2 separate regions of the Homo sapiens genome follow, and region 1 is linked to region 2. The links are contacts of gene promoters, found by promoter capture Hi-C in human tissues and cell types (Jung and others, 2019). All regions are on one chromosome and are shown on one strand. The core of a region is centred on a gene start or on the middle of the fragment in contact, and the rest is flanking DNA. Distances in the headings are between cores, read along the strand shown. Region 1 overlaps SPATS2 (spermatogenesis associated serine rich 2). Region 2 holds the start of PRPH (peripherin).

Evidence for each region. Contacts are between HindIII fragments. The study calls those that stand out against the background at their distance.
Region 1: a fragment that was not itself captured here is called in contact with the fragment with the promoter of PRPH in region 2 in 3 of the 25 tissues and cell types used here (IMR-90 fibroblasts, lymphoblastoid cells and mesenchymal stem cells).

Annotation. Positions count from the first base shown.
Region 1 is chr12:49,399,467-49,402,423 of GRCh38, reverse strand. All of the region lies in intron 2 of SPATS2 (spermatogenesis associated serine rich 2), which reads right to left. Among named protein-coding and RNA genes, the nearest start is that of SPATS2, 33 kb to the right of the region's middle. The HindIII fragment of the contact is 8,029 bases long and covers 1-2,957 here.
Region 2 is chr12:49,293,723-49,296,500 of GRCh38, reverse strand. PRPH (peripherin) reads right to left here and starts at 1,354. Exons shown (of 9, transcript NM_006262.4): 1 at 756-1,354; 2 at 263-323; 3 at 1-69. The coding sequence starts at 1,300. TROAP-AS1 (TROAP and PRPH antisense RNA 1) reads left to right here. Exons shown (of 8, transcript NR_120449.1): 6 at 1-1,241; 7 at 1,966-2,053; 8 at 2,605-2,778. RefSeq lists enhancers at 422-1,338, 1,339-2,256, 2,336-2,778. The HindIII fragment of the contact is 28,443 bases long and covers 1-2,778 here.

The sequences.
Region 1 (2,957 bases), core at 285-2,784, 110 kb before region 2:
TGCTCCATCTAGCACCCTAACTCTAAAAATCCTTTGACCCCACCAGGATTTATAAGCCATTGATCCCATTCCCCTCTTACATCCTCATTTTCCTCCTCAGCTTCAAGTTCAAGGTCCATCATTATAATCATTCCCTTGCATACACCTCAAGTCTCTTGACTTCCACTCTCATTTCATCATACCTGCCTGGCAAAACACCAACCCTGATTAAATACAACCCCTGTTAAGAAAAACAAAAACATTTAGGACATTCGGGAGGCAACTGGAAATTAGAAAACTAACAGCTGGGCATGGTGGTGCATGCCTATACTCCCAGCTACTTGGGAGGCTGAGGAAGAAGGATCAACTGAGCCCAAGAGGTCAAGGCTGCGATGAGCCGTGTTTGCACCACTGCACTCCAGCCTGGGCGACAGAGCGAGACCCTGTCAGACAATCAATCAACCAATCAATCAATCAATAAAACAAAAACTAGGCCAGGCAGGTGGATCATTTGAGGTCAGGAGTTCAAGACCAGCCTGGCCAACATGGCGAAACCCTGTCTCTACTAAAAATACAAAAATTAGTTGGGCAGTGTGCTACATGGCTGTAATCCCAGCTACTCAGGAGGCTGAGGCAGAAGAATCGCTTGAGTCTGGGAGGCGGAGGTTGCAGTGAGCTGAGATCGTGCCACTGCACTCCAGTCGGGGCGACAGAGTGAGACCCTGTCTCAAAAATAAATTAAATTTTAAAATAAAACAAAAACTAAAAAAGAAAAGAAAAAGAAACTGACAGGATATTTGATATCAAGGAATTGTTAAATCTTTTAGTATGGTAATGGTACTTTTTGGTAAGAGTTCATATCTTTTAGAGAAACATGAAATATTTAAGCACAAAATATGATGTTTGGGATTGCTTCAAAATAATATGGAAAAGTAGAAATGGTTGAGGGTACAAATAAAACAAGATTAGCAGTGAGTAAATATTTGTTGAAACTGGGTGATGAGTACATGAGGGCTCTATTTACTTTTGTATGTTTAAAATTTTCCTGAATAACATGTTTAAAAAAAATGCAGCTGTCCATCTACTCTATGCCTGCACCATGCAGCTAAATGTGGCTTTAAAAAGGAAAAAAAGAGCCAGATGCAGTGGCTCATGCCTGTAATCCCAGCACTTTGGGAGGCAGAGGCAGAAGGATCATATGAGCCCAGGAGTTTGAGACCAGCCTGGTCAACATAGGGAGACCTTGTCTCTACAAAAAATTTTAAAATTAGCCAGGCATGGTGGTACTTGGCTATAGTTCCAGCTACTTGGGAGGGTGAGACAGGAGGACAGCTTATCCCAGGAGGTTGAGACCAGCCTGGGCAACATAGTAAGACTTTGTCTCTACAAAAAAAAATCAAAAAAATTAGTCAGGCGTTGTGGCACATGCCTGTGGTCCCAGCTACTTGGGAGGCTGAGGTGGGAGAATCACTTGAGCCTGGGAGGTTGAAGGATGCAGTGAGCTATGCACCACGGCACTCAAGCCTGGCTGACGGAGTAAGATCCTGTCTCAAAATTAAAATGAAATAATAAAAATAAAACATTCATACTAAACAGTTCTCACATAAAATTCACAACAGCTAACTTCAAATGGTCTCTTAGCTCAGCATGACAATCAAAACTTTTGCCTCATCCATTCATTCTCCCACTCCTCTATTTGGTACATTTTATGCCATTTTCTCTTTCCTCAAGCTATCAATGAACATTTCCTCGTCCATGCTTACTCCTAGTTGCTGCCCTTCCACTTCCTCAGTGAAAGAGAAGGCAATCACTACCACCATTTGCCCTGTCCTCTCTCCTGTTATGCACTGTAGATGAACTGACTGCTCCTATCTACAGCCAACTCCTCCACTTGAACACCAGACTCCAAACCCTATTGCCTAGTCATTCCCCTTTCTCCCTCCTGCATCAGCAATATTTCCCTCTCTACTGGTGCATCCTCATCAGCACTGTAGAAACATACTCTCAGTTATCTCACTGAAAAAGATAAGCCATAACCCCAGTTTCCTCACCAGCTACTTATCCATTTCTCTGCTCTCCTTCACAGCAACACTCCAAGAAGCTGTAACTGTCTCCAATTCCTTTCCTCCCATTCAAAATCACCCCAAGAGGCTTTTGCTTCCTGATTACCCTACCAAAGCCTCTCCCATCAAGATCAGCAAGAAATTCCAAATTACTAAATCTGATGGTCAATTTTTAGTCATCTTACTTAGATATCTGCAACATCTAGTATACCATGTATATTCTTACTTTGTCAAAACATTCCCCTCCCCAGAATATAAACTCAAGGAAGACAGAGAGGTCTGTTTTGTTCACAGCTGTAACTCTAACAGTGCCTGGTACATGGTACCATATTTTTTTCTTTTTTTTGAGACGGAGTCTCGCTCTGTCGCCCAGGCTGGAGTGCAGTGGCGTGATCGCTGCTCACTGCAAGCTCCGCCTCCCGGGTTCACGCCATTCTCCTGCCTCAGCCTCCCGAGTAGCTGGGACTAAGGCACCTGCCACCACGCCTGGCTAATTTTTTGTATTTTTAGTAGAGATGGGGTTTCAACACATTAGCCAGGATGGTCCTGATCTCCTGACCTCGTGATCCGCCTGCCTTGGCCTCCCAAAGTGCTGGGATTACAGGCATGAGCCACCGCGCCTGGCCATTTTTTTCATATTTTAACATCTCTGAAAACCAGGCACAATTAATGACATCTTATAATTGCTATTTGTTTCTTTCAAGCACCTGGGGCACTACCAATCCGAAACAACTTTTAATTAGAATCTCTGTTTAAATTTTGTTGTACCACATAGGGAGTGTGAATTCAGACCTAGAACCAGTTTAAATTCCCATGAAAGTTTTTAGCCCTCCTACACACCATCAAAGTTGAGACACAAGATGCCTTGCTATGCCTTTCTGTATGGTGGGTTTACTTCTCATTTCCATTCTCATG
Region 2 (2,778 bases), core at 105-2,604:
AATCTCATCCATCAGAGACTCAATCTTGCGCTCTAGTTCCAGGCGGGACAGAGTGGCATCGTCCACGTCCTTCGAGGGGTGGCAGTGGAGGTTCAAGATAAGTTAGGGGCTGCGCAGACCAAGGAAGGACCAGGCCTTCCCTGTCTGCCTCAGGAGGCATCTGGGTTACCCCCTTCTCCCCGCGCCCACCGATGCCACCTCTGGATACTGAGATCGGGGGTAGCGGTGGGGAGGCTGAACTCGGAGAGGGGCTCGGACTCACCTTGCGGAAGAGCACGAGGTTGTGCTCCGCGTCCTCCCGCTTGCGCGTCTCCTCCTCCAACCTGACGGGAAGAGCGTGCAGAGGCTGAACTGCGGGGTCGCCGCCCAGCTCGCACCCCAGACCGCACGCCCCCCAGGATCCGGTTAGAGGCTGTTCTGCTGCCCAGGACTCTAAATGGAGGGCTGAGGCTGTCTAATGGAATTGCCCCGCATTGTCTCTAACGGACTGGGAGCTGAAAAGGGGGTTTCCTCATTACTCAGGGGAGGCACAGATACCCACTTCTCCCACCTCCCCAAACACTCAGAGCAAAGGGGTAGCGGGGGGCACTTGGAGCCCGTGGGCAGGGATGCTGCCCGCACACACCTGGGTTGGTAAGGGGAGCCACACCCTTGGGCTGCTGATGGAGAGGGGAAGCGAGGGGAGGCAAGAGCAGCCGCCTCGACGGCCGCTTCGACCTCGCCTCGACGGCAGCGGCCCAGCCCTGCCCCCTGACCTCTGCTTGAGCGCCGCCAGGTCCTCCGCCAGCCCGTCGCGCTCCACCTGCACCCGGTCACGCTCGCGGCCCAACAGCTCCAGCTCTCGCCGCAGCTCGCGCAGCTCCTGCTGGCACAGCTGGTCGGCGCGCGCCGGCTCCTGGCCCCGGGCTTGGCTCAGCTCCCCGCGCAGGGCCGCGTTCTGCTGCTCCAGAAAGCGTACCTTCTCGATGAAGTTGGCGAAGCGGTCGTTGAGCTCCTGCAGCTCCTGCTTCTCGTTGCTGCGCGTGGCCAGGAACTCCTGGTTGAGGGCCTCGGCCATGGAGAAGTCGAGGCGCTCCGAGGGCAGGCGCAGGAGGGCGCCCGCTCCCGCTCGGGGGCTACGGAAGCTGCCCAGGCGCACCGAGGAGCTCGGGGACGCGGAGCCCAGCAGGCGGCTGCTGGAGAAGCGGGAGCTGGACGAGTAGGAGAAGGCCCCGGGGGATAGTGAGGGCGGTGGACCGAAGGTACGGCGGTATGAGGTGGAGCTGAAGCCGGCCCGGAGGCCCGACGGGTGGTGGCTCATTGCGGCCAAGGATGGGCAGTCACCGTTCGCAGAGCTAGGCCGGGGGCTGGGAAGGAGCCGCAGACCGCTGCGAGGCGGCTTTATAGCCCTGCGGTCTCAGGGGGGGCACGGGCAGCTCCTCCCACTGGCCTGATGGCCCGCTGGAGGGGGGTTGTATGGGGAGGGGGATGCCCCACCCCTGCGGAACAGCAGGAGCGCCTTCCCCTCCCTTCCCTGGTTGCAGGCCTCTACCCACTTGATTGCCCCCTGTTGCCGCTGGGGTGGGGGTCACTTCCTCCCAACAAGCACCCAAAGCTAGAACCTAGGGTAGGAAGGCCTGACTTGAACTAGAGTCCCTGAAAATTGCGAGGTAGAAGGACCTGAAGTTAAAGGGCAGGCTTCTGGCACAGGAGTAGGGAGGAGGCCAGCTGGAGGGAGAGTTGACCTGGCTTAGGCCCCATAGCTAGTGCCTTGACTTGCCCCCTGAAGGCCAGGCTCTATTTTCACCTGCTGTCAGCTACCCCTCCTTCACCACACCCAGAGAGGAATAGGAGACAGGGGCGCAGAGGCAGATCGGGCTGGGGAAGAGCTACTCTCCCTAATCCCCAGGGCCCTGTGAAGGGCTGGTGCCTGGCGCCAGCTCTGCTGCTAATGGGCTGACCAGCCCCCCTCCCCCTCCCCTGAAGACGGCCCAGCAGAGGTTGTCTGCTGATGTTTCAGCCTTAAAGACACAGCCCCCAAACCTAGACCTACCCCGCAACAAGCCCCAATGAGGTGGGTACATCATAGGGGGCTGAGGGTGGCTGGACCCAGCTCTGGATCCCACTCGGGAGGGTCTGCCCCATGCCACGGGCTGGGCTAAGTGGGCCTTTTGTATTCTGTCTTGGTTTACTGGATTCTCCCTCCCCCCAACCCCACACCAATTGCTGCTCAGTCATGGGCTTTACAGGAACCAGAGTGATTCCTGAGGTAGGAAGGGGAGGGGGCTGAGGGGCAACAGCGGCTGCCAAGGCTGAGAGATGGATGGACTGGCAGGAGCTGGTTTCCAGTATTGATGAGTTGCAGGTACCAGGGATGGGTGGGGCTGGATGGGGAAGAGATGGGGAAAGAGAAAGTGCCCATCCCCAGCAGTCTGAAAGAGAGAAGGCCCCAGAACAGGTCCACAAACCTGCGCACGCAAACAGATGCATACACACAGCTTTGTATATCTATGCGCACACACACTACATACACACACATACACACACAATCACACATCCCACCACACCCTCCCCTACTCCAGAGTTAGCGAGAAGGCTGATATCTGGCCTTTGTATGTCAAACAGCTTCCAGAATGCAAGCACAACCTGCCCAGGAGTGGACAGAGGCAGCTCGGATGGTCTGCAGGAGCCGGGTTGCTGAGGTCTGCTGGGTTTGCCAGGAACCATAGGGCTGGGGCTGCTGCTGCTGCTGGGGACTCCAGCGCTGTCCTGTGAGACAGGTCTGCCTCAGATGGGACC